Regions from separate parts of the Homo sapiens genome. Here region 2 is linked to region 1. The links are contacts of gene promoters, found by promoter capture Hi-C in blood cells and fetal thymus (Javierre and others, 2016). All regions are on one chromosome and are shown on one strand. The core of a region is centred on a gene start or on the middle of the fragment in contact, and the rest is flanking DNA. Distances in the headings are between cores, read along the strand shown.

Region 1 (5,100 bases), core at 1-2,500:
GCACAGAGCCCCTCCTGAGGGCTGCATGCGGTGTCCTGTTACACAGCCAGTACAAAAAAAAAATCTCTGCTGGGAGTCCCGGTGACAGAGGAGACAAAGGAGAGGACGGGAAGGGGGGATGGGTACATGAACCATCTGAAGACAGGAGGGTGTGGCCCCGGCCGGAATTCCGGAGAACCAAAGCCCCCTCATTTTCCTCAGGCCTCCATCCGGGCCGTACAGCCCAGAGGGACCAGCGGGAAACAAGGAAGAGGAGGGGCTGAGACTCTGGGCCAGTCTGGAAGTGCATTCATTCTCCTTCCTGCTCTTCAGCCACCTCAGGAATGTCTCTAAGCTGGGGGGCAGGGAACCCCAGCCTCTGGAAGTTAGACCCTGCAGTTTAAACCCTGCAGTTACTCCAAGAACCCTGTGGCAGTGGACAGAAGGAAAGACTCAAATCCTTCTAGTCAGCCCCTTAATCCCCAGAGCAGAGCAGACCCTGCTGACCCCCACTCTCTTTTTTCGGAGTGGTAGGGAGCCTCGCTGGCCAAGTCTTTCCTTTGGCTGCCATCATCTAGGCTGCAAGCTGCTGATCAGAAATTGAGCCACTGTCGCCCACTTCTACCAGAGCACACGGACCCCAGGAGTCGAGACGATTTCACCTCCTTTCCCACCACCGGAAGCTCAAATTCCCTCAGCAAGCCTGTGAGGAGGCTGGGCCACCAATCACCGCTGCCCCTGAGCCTCAACCCCAGAACGGAAGTGACCTGGAACTGCGAGGCCGGCCTATCCTCCCTACCCTTGCGGGAAGAGGCACCAGACCCATCTCCTTCCTCCTCTGTTTCTTTCCGCAGAGGCTCTGCTCTCTGCCCCCAGCCCCCTTTACACAGCACCTAGTCTCGTATCTGCCACCACCACCTTTTAGGGGTCCCTGCACTTTTTCCCAGTCCTCCGAGTGCACGGACTCCCAACCCGGCTCCGATCTCCGCCCTAGCCCTCAGCTGGCACCATCACTGGCTAGCCCTGGGCTCTCGATTCCAAACCCTCCAGCGGCCCCCAAAGTGCCGAGGACTCCAATTTGTAGGCTCTGGCTCGGCACCCAACGCTTCGCAGGGTCCCCTCGCCCCTCTTACTCCCTCGCGCACCCCCAGATTGCTCGGCGCTCCCCCGGGCCGCACGCACGCAGGCGTCTCCCGCCCCTCACCTGGGTCGGGCTGGGCTAGCGCCGGGACGTGACTCTCGCTCTCGAGCCGCGACACGATTCTACTCTTAGCCCGCTCCCCTGCTCCCGGGATCTATATATGGCAGTCCCCACCCCCTCCTGCCCGTCCCGAGAAACTTCTGGAAAGTTGGAAACGCTTCCGGAGGGCGCCCCAGCTCCGCCAAAAAAAGCCAAAGACCTCCCTCAAAACCTCCCCGGCCCCCGGCCCCTCCCTCTGCCGGCGCCTCCCGGCCCCTGGGTCCTACTGCCTCCCTCGGCGGCCCGGGCTGCGGGGCGCCGGGAGTCCCCACGGGGATCAGCGTGTCCTTCAGAGTGCGAGCTTCCTCCCACCCCCAGGCTCTCTGCATAAGCTAGCCCACTCCGAATCGCACGTCCTTTCAGGCGCCCCTTTCCCCGCAGGGGCTCTGCCCCAAGCAGAGCCATCTCCCCTTCTCCCCGCTCTCCCCCATTTTCAAGCTGAAACAATTGAGTCCTGTGCACCCCCTCCCTCTCAGGGGAGACGTTCAGGCTTCTGAAGGCAGTGCCCTTCTCCATACTTGTACATTCAAAAAACCTCAACCTCAGCGATGGCCAGAGGGAGAGGGAGCAGACCAGACCCGGTACCTGCCCGGCACCCGGAAAGTTCAAGTCGTGGAGTAATAGAGGCAGAGATGCCTGGGGAACTTCAGGTGGTCTGGCTGGGCTTGGAGGAGTGCACAGGAAGGAAAACCTGGCTCTCCACTGAGCAAGGTGCTGTGTGACCCTAAGCAGGTTACTTTCCCTTTCTGGGCCTCTGTTCCCTTGGCTGTGAAATGTGGTTCTAAGGCATCCCTTGCTTTTTTTCCCCCCTCTCTCCCTTCCTCAATCCTTGTCACCCCTGGCCCCCTCCCTATTGCATCCCCTCCCTCTTTGGGTCCCCTCCCACAGGCCTCAGGTCTCACTGTCAATTCCTACCCCACCCTCGCAAACTGATAGCTCCTTGACCTCCAAGTTAAGCTAGGGTATTCATTACTGTTCTAGGTGCTGAGGACACAGCTGAGAGCTGAACAAAGTCCTTGCCCTGTGCGATGTCCATCTGTGGGGTATGTACCTGTTAGTAGGGAATTCAGTGATTCAGTGAGGCAGATTATTTAGGAAACCCTAAATAATCTGGGCGACAGTGGCTCAATTTCTGATCAGCCGAGGCTCCCTACCCTCCGAAAAGTCCTCTTTAGTAGTTTAATGATAGCTATTGGATGGACGCAGTATGGAGAGGAAGGGACAGGGTAGGGACTCTTCATTCATTCAGTCATGAATGAATGCATTGAGTATCTTCTTTCTTCTAGGTGCTTGCCTGGATCCTGGGGAGCAAAAAAATCCCAGTACCCAGCAAATGAGTCAATCACCTGGGTCCCTGCCCTCTGTTAGTGGTTGTGGGGAAGCCTGGTGGTGGTGACAAACCTCTCTGTCTGGGTAGGCTTCTGCAGCTCAGAGTCTTTTGAGTACAAGGACTGTGGGAAATCTCAGATCCCAAAAGCTTCAGACTCTGTGATTCAGGGTCAAGGAATCAGAGATTACTTCCACTCAAAGCCCCCAAGGAGTCTTTGAATCCAGCTAAGGAATCTTAACATGTTAAAATCTCAGAGTCGAAGGATTCTGGAATAAATGTATTAAAGACTCTGAGCTGCAAGGCATCTCAGAGGTCAGGGGTTCCTGTCTGCAGCCCCAGGCAGAAGCCCTCTTCTCAGTATCCCAAAAAGGCAAGCACCGAGGCACCTCTAAGAAGAGAGAGCTTACCTCCTTCAGAGGCAGCCCCGCATTCTTTTTTAGGACAGGTCTGATTATTAACAAAAGCTTCCAGCCTTGGCATGGTGTCCATCTCTTTGGGGTGGCTGTCGTGGTTCTCATGTGCTTCCTCCTGCCTCAACTGTATATTGCTTTTAAAGATAAATTCTAGGCTGGGCGCGGTGGCTCATGCCTGTAATCCCAGCACTTTGGAAGGCCGAGGTGGGTGGATCACCTGAGGTCAGCAGTTCAAGATCAGCGTGGCCAAAATGGTGAAACCCCATCTCTAATAAAAATATGAAAATTAGCCAGCTGTGGTGTCATGTGCCTGTAATCCCAGCTACTCAGGAGGCTGAGGCGGGAGAATCTCTTGAACCTGGGAGGTGGAGTTTGCAGTGAGCCGAGATCATGCCACTGCACTCCAGCATGGGTGACAGAGCGAGACTCCATCTCAAAAAAAAAAGATAAATTCTTGTTTATCCAAGGAGACCTCCCGGGTCCCAGGCCAGACCCCACTCTCTACTCCCACCCCCACATTGGCCCTCAGGCTTCCTTGTGACTTGGTCAGTGAGCTGAGGGCAGGGCAGAGCAGAAACAAAGAGTGCCCATCAATGCTGGCAAAACAGAGAGGGTCGCCTGGGTTTTCAGCAGGTTCAGATGTCACAATCCCAGTGAGACTCCCTTCCTCTACTCTCTTACATCTCTTAGCTCTTTTAGGCTTCACCAACACCTGAGGGGGAGACTGAGAGTGCTGTGACTGTCCCATTTTGAGGGATAAACCAAAGCTCATGCTGTTAAATAGACCCAGTATCATGAGTGGTCACTGAAGAGAGGACCTGCCCTTACAGACAGCAAAGCTGAGGCCTAAGGAGGGCTGGGTCTGAAGGCCCAACCCCCATCCGACCCCCACTAATCTCACACCGGGTCAGAAGCCTCCTCTGTGACCTATCCCACTGCTGCATTATCTCTGTTATCACCCTGTATTGTCAGTGAACCATCACTGGAGACTTTGGAAGGGCAGGGCCTTTTCCTTGTCACTGTGAGTCCCCAGCTCCAGCAAGGGGACAGTATGGAAGAGGCACTGGGTAAGCATGGCTGGCCAGGGGATGAGAAGTGGCTGCCTGAGGCTGCTGTGCCCCTAGCACAGCCTCCCTGAAGAAGGGAAAGCAACGGCTCCTTTAAATTTCCAAGATCAGCAAAAAAAAAAAAAGTCAAGAGCCTTTGCCACAATATTCTTAGCTCTGAGCCCAGCCCAGACTGACTGTGGCCCTTCCCCCACATTCCAGGCAGAGCTTTCCGGAAAAAGCACTCTTTTAGGGGGTGGGGGAGAAGAGTCTGATAAGCAGAGAAACTCTCAAGCATTTTGTCTCTGGACTCCTCCAGTGCCTCGCTTCACTGAAGGAAGTGGTCCTGGTGCCTGGCACGTGGAGGCTGGCTGGAAATCCTCTAGATCCCTAGGTCCCGAGAGGTGTGGACAGCAGAAAGTAGAAAACCATCAAGTCCAACTGCATCCACACTATACAGAGAGGACAACGGAAGCCCAGAGAGGGCAGGAATTTACCCAAGGTCACACAGCATATCAGAGGTGGGGCTGGGCTGGAGCCTAAGCCCTGGACTCCCAGCCCTCTTTCTCCCACAGTACCCTCTAATGACCCAGGGGGGTATGTAGGCCCAGTTCTGCCAGGTGCTGTGGAAACAGCTTTCTTTGGCCCCAGTGGCTAGATTCACTCAGTCTTCACCCCATAGAATCCTAGGACAAAAACTTGCATGTCATTTAAGTGTGCAACACATTCACATTTATTATCATATTTATTCCTTTCAGGTAAGGAAGAATGTTCCAATTTTCAGCATGAAGAAACTGAGGATCAGGGAGACTAAGCAACAGGGTTAAGGGCACACAACAAGCCAGAGTCAGAGCTGGGTTTTGAATCAGGTCTGTTTATGCCATATCCACGGGAAGGCAGGGAGTGGACGAGAAGGAAGTGACATTTATGGGCCATTTTGCCGCTGCCAGGCCTGTGCTGGGCACCGTCATTAGTGTCTCACTTTTAATTATAGAACGTTAATCGGAAGGAAGTTTAATCCCCTTCTTTTTACATTGGTATAAAATTGGAGCCCAGAAAGCTCCGACAGCCAGTCCAGGGTCGGCCCCCTCC
Region 2 (5,055 bases), core at 2,052-4,551, 760 kb before region 1:
CTAGAATGTTACTATCACACATGTAAAGCATACTATTGTAATTTCACCTACCATTCACTGTTCACTGCCTTTTCATAAGGACAAACTGGACTCTATTGAGATTACGCTTTTCCCATTTTGGGCATCAAAAATTTATTTTAGATGAAGTAGTGGTGCAATAGTACACGACAGTTTTTCTTTTTTTCTTTTTTTAAAATTTTTTGAGATGGAGGATGGAGTCTTGCTCTGTCTCCCAGGCTGGAGTGCAGTGGTGCGATCTCGGCTCACTGCAACTTCTGCCTCCTGGGCTCAAGCAATTCTCTGGCCTCAGCCTCCTGAGTAGCTGGGATTACAGGCACCTACCATCATGCCTGGCTAATTTTTGTAGTTTTAGTAAAGATGGCCAGGCTGGTCTCAAACTCCTGACCTTGAACTTCTGGCTGATCTGCCCACCTTGGCCTCCCAAAGTGCTGGGATTACAGGGGTAAGCCACCACGCCCAGCCTAGTACATGATATTTTTCGAGTAAACTTTTCACAAAGTCTAATATGTATTCAGAATAATCAGACTCCTAAATGTACAGCTTGATGCCTTACCACTAAGTGAACACACCATGGAACCACAGAACATCATGATAGTTCTTTTTCTAATGTTTTTTGTTTGTTTGTTTTGTTTTGTTTGTTTGTTTTGGTTTTTTTAGCAAACTAAAAAAGCTGGTAACTTTACGCTGGTCACCTCCTCTTCATTTAAATTTTACCAGTTGGTAAAATCTAGAATTTGGAGATGTTCTGGGCTAGCCGATCTAATAATGTTCCACGCAGTGCTGCTGGAGCCCTTGGAGCCATTATCTTCTGTGACACACCAACCAGAGGGAAGCAGACGTGGGCCAGGGGCCCACTTCACCCCATCTCAAGAGATAGGAAGAATCCGGCCAAAACATCCCCTCCAGATTCAGCAGAGTTGGCTGCTTGATGCCAGAGCCAAGGGGCAGTGAGGAGGAGTGGCTTTGGATGGGAGATGCTGGAGGATGAATCATTCCTCCCATTCAGGCCTCTCTCGCAGCCTCTTTTCATCAGCCATTACTTTTCCCTTCCACCCACCCACCCCAGGGGCAGGTCTTCCGGACACCTAGGAATCCTCAGGTGCATGTTGTGCATCACCATTGCCATCCCCTCTCCCCCACTCAATTCTCAAGTCACAGCTCTGAGACCCAGGAAGCATCCTCTGACCGTTTTTTTCCCTATTGATAATGGAGAAACCCTGGCACCTTTGTGAAAGGCTATGAAAGTTGTTCAAAATCACACAACAGGCTGGGAATCCAGGAGGCCACATCCGCTCAACCAAGGCAATGCACATTTGTCAAGGACTTGCTTTGTACCCAAACACAGACCAAGGTGATTCTAAGGAAGAAGACCCTTTCTGTTCAGTAAGTCTTAAGTACTATTATGCTCAATAAATATGTGCCTGGCCCTCACTAGGTGTTGACCATTCATGCATTCAGCAAATATTTTATTGAGCAGTCTCTCTGTGTCACTGCTTTTGACTCTAAATTATTTGCTTATACTACTACTTCTTGATTTTTCAGTTTCTTTCTCTTTCTCTCTCTCTTTCCCCTTACTTTCTCCACACTCACATGTACATTTTGTGTCTCCCTACTTCCACCTAGTATCACAAGTTTGATTGGAACAGTATTCATGTTTTCATTATTAGGCTACGTAAATGCTATTGACAACTGGGCCGTGTAGTATTCTATAATTATTTTTCCTTCCCTGCATAACAATTGTGGTTATGCATATCTCCTTTCAATATGTTTAAATGCATTGGCTAGTCTACTGATTTCATCTTCCTGAAGAAGTCCCTCCCAGAGTCTTCCACCATGTCCCATTAGGATGAATTGTCTTCTATTGCACAATAGAATAGAATGGCCTGGGGATTCCTTTGCCCCTATCCTTTGTTACATTTTCTTTTCCTTGGATGCCATGTTTTCCTCTTTCTTGGTTAACTCCCTCACTTCTGTTGAAGCACATCCTCCAGAAGCTTCCTCAGGAAACATGCAAAGATAATTCACATGACTAGAAATGTATTCTCTCTTCACCCTTGATCATCAGTTGGCTGGGTGGAAATATAACTTTCTGGGATGGAAATATAACTTTCTTCAGAATTTTGGAGACATTTCCCCATTTTGCAGCAATATCTTATTTCTTAGGATGTTAATTATAGTTTTAAGTTTTCAGCTTTTTGCAAAGTTGCCAGCTTCTAAGTTCCTTTGTTGTTTCCCCCTATTCTTTTGACTTCTTTTTTAATTAGAGGCTTTTCTCAAATGCTTACTCATCCTTTGCTGTCTGCTCATATTTAAGAATGAGACACTAAAACAGATTTGATACCCTCTGAACATGATTGGGGCTGTGCACATGATTGGGCCATTCCATGTCTTTTATTTTGTGCTAGTCAAAAGAAAAGCTCCTCCAATCTCCTGCCTGAAGCATTCTGTGTATCCTGTCTGGAGTATTAGTATTTTGCCAGGAGAGAGAGTATCTGGAAGTCTGATTGTTTTCCAAGCAATCTTTCTGTTTTTAGCCTCCACCCCGCCCACCTCCGACCCACCCACTTTCCAGAGGTACCTGGTACAACCAACTCCTGAACCATTTGGGGGTTTAACAGTGTAAATTGGGCTGATTTTCAACTTTCTTTATTGCCTTTTAGGATTTAATCAATTACCATTCTTTGTTGGCTGTGTCTGGTTTCCAATATTATGATAAATCCCTTTAGTGTTGTTTTAGTTGGTTTCAGGGAAGACCATAGTGCGAGTTCCGCTTGCTATCTTTATTCTAGTTCAATTTTTAAATGGGCAGTAACAACACATTTCAGAGCAGGAAGTCTCTGTTTAAAGTTATAAACATTAACAGAGACTGTAACCAGAATATGGAAAAGGGCCTAGAGGGGCCCTTCCCCACCAGTTCTTTACCTATTAAGACTCCTGGCTCTAAAAGCCCAGGTCAAAAGCCACTCCTTGCGATGCCTTCCTCAGACTGCCCAGCTTGTATTTGTTTTATTCAAGTTAGGCCAACTGAGTGATAGACATTACAGTACTTTATAGACATTATTCCATTTAAACCTTTACACTCTAAAGTGATAGACTTTTGGAGAGGTGGATGCACTGATCAAGATCCCACAGCCTTCCTGACCACTTCACAGGTGGAAAACTGAGGTGGTCCCATGGCCAGAGCTAAGAAAGGCGGTGCTGATTCCTGGGCCCCCGCTGCTCACGGCGCCCTTTGGCATCACAGTAGGCCAAGGGCAGCTCACTCTTTGGTGGCCCCAAGAATAACGGGGGCAGTTTACTGAGAGATCTCAGTAAACTGACAGTTTACATTTACTGAGATTGTAACAGTCCAAGGGGTTCACCTTGCCCACTGCCTGGACAGAGCCGATTCTTCAAGACAGGGGAATTGCAATAGAGAAAGAGTAATTCATGCAGAGCTGGCTGTGCGGGAGACCAGAGTTTTATTATTACTCAAATCAGTCTCCCCAGGCATTGGGGAGCAGAGTTTTGAAGGATAACTTGGTGGGTGGGGGGAAGACAGTGTGCCAGGAGTGCTGATTGGTCAGAGATGAAATCACAGGGAGTGGAAGCTGTCTTCTTGCGCTGAGTCAGTTCCTGGGTGGGGGCCACAAGATCAGATGAGCCAGTTTATTGATCTGGGTGGTGCCAGCTGATCCATCAAGTGCAGGGCCTGTGAAACATCTCAAGCACTGATCTTAGAGCAGGTTAGAGAGGGTCAGAATCTTGTATCCTCCAGCTGCATATAATTCCTTATCTTGTGGCTAATGTTAGACCTGCCAAAGCAATCTAGTCCCCAGGCAAGAAGGAGGTCTGCTTTGGGAAAGGTCTGTTACCATCTTTGTTTAAACAATAAACTATAAACTAAATTTCTCCCAAAGATAGTTCAATCTATGCTTAGGAATGAACAAGGACAGCTTGGAGGTTAGAAGCAAAATGGAGTCAGTTAAGTTAGATCTCTTTCACTGTCTCAGTCATAATTTTACAAAGGCGGTTTCAAGATCTCTCAGTAAATGACAGACCTGAGACTTAAACTCAGGTCTCTACCATGCAGCCCTTCTGACATAATTGCTGACTTTGAGGAGCCCCAAAGGTAGAGCTCATATTTTGGTGAAAAAATGGCACATGGTACTGCAGTCAGCCCTGGGCACGTACAAGGAGCACCAAATGGGGGTGAAGGAGTGGTGTTCAGTTCAGAGGAAAGAGGGCTTCCTCCCAAATGACCAGGGCTGCCTTTGCAGAGGTGGTAGCATCTGAGCTCATCACCCCACAGGTTCAGGATGGCTTCTTTCCTTGCCTAGGGGATGGGCGGTGACAGTGAATAATAATGATGGTGGTGGTGAAGTTAGTAAAGCACTTTTACTCACATCTCTTTGATTTTACAGAACCTTGTGGGCTGAATGTTATCTCCACTTTAGGCAAGATAAAATCAAGACACAGAGAAGTTAGTCACCCAGCAGGAAAGCCTGGGCTTCAGGGTCCAAGTCCCTCCCTTCCGAGTCCTCGCTCTCTGCTCTCTGCTGTAACTAGGCCGAGGGGGAAGCTTCCTATTCCAAAGCATCTCTTCACCAGTGCTTCACAACATGTGGACTATTTCCTTGTTTTAAAGAGCTGATTTCTGGGTCCCATCTCAGACCTACTGCGTCTCTGGGAGATGGGGCCTTGAAATCTGCATTTTAACAACTGTCCCCGTGATTCTTGTGGTCACCTAAGAGTGAGATGCCCTCGGCCTACTGGGATGCTGAAGGACGCTGTGAGCAGCGGGGGCCCAGGAATCAGCACTGCCTTTCTTAGCTCTGGCCATGGGACCACCTCAGTTTTCTGCCTGAGAAGTGGGCAGAGTCGAGACTCCGAGGGTGCCACGCCCCGGCTGCCACCCCGCCAGCACAGGCGAGCGCCACACCTGCGTCTCTCCCAGGCTCCCTCCCTTCTCCGTCCCGCCCGCCCGGGTGGAAGGAAACAGCTGGGGGCTCTTCTTTTCCAGGCTGCGGTCGCCTCCTCTTCGGTTGCGGACGG

The links. Contacts are between HindIII fragments. The CHiCAGO score rates a contact against its expected background, and 5 or more counts as called.
Region 2: a contact is called between a fragment that was not itself captured here and the fragment with the promoter of SERPINH1 in region 1, in 1 of 17 cell types (naive B cells). The highest score is 5.2, in naive B cells.

Annotation. Positions count from the first base shown.
Region 1 is chr11:75,558,403-75,563,502 of GRCh38, reverse strand. SERPINH1 (serpin family H member 1) reads right to left here and starts at 1,250. Exons shown (of 5, transcript NM_001235.5): 1 at 1,184-1,250. RefSeq lists enhancers at 1-489, 490-1,030, 1,031-1,570, 4,152-4,693, silencers at 1,195-1,244, 1,255-1,514 and cis regulatory regions at 3,706-4,556, 5,029-5,100. The HindIII fragment of the contact is 13,607 bases long and covers 1-2,698 here.
Region 2 is chr11:76,322,176-76,327,230 of GRCh38, reverse strand. No RefSeq gene overlaps it. Among named protein-coding and RNA genes, the nearest start is that of THAP12, 56 kb to the left of the region's middle. The HindIII fragment of the contact is 2,567 bases long and covers 2,018-4,584 here.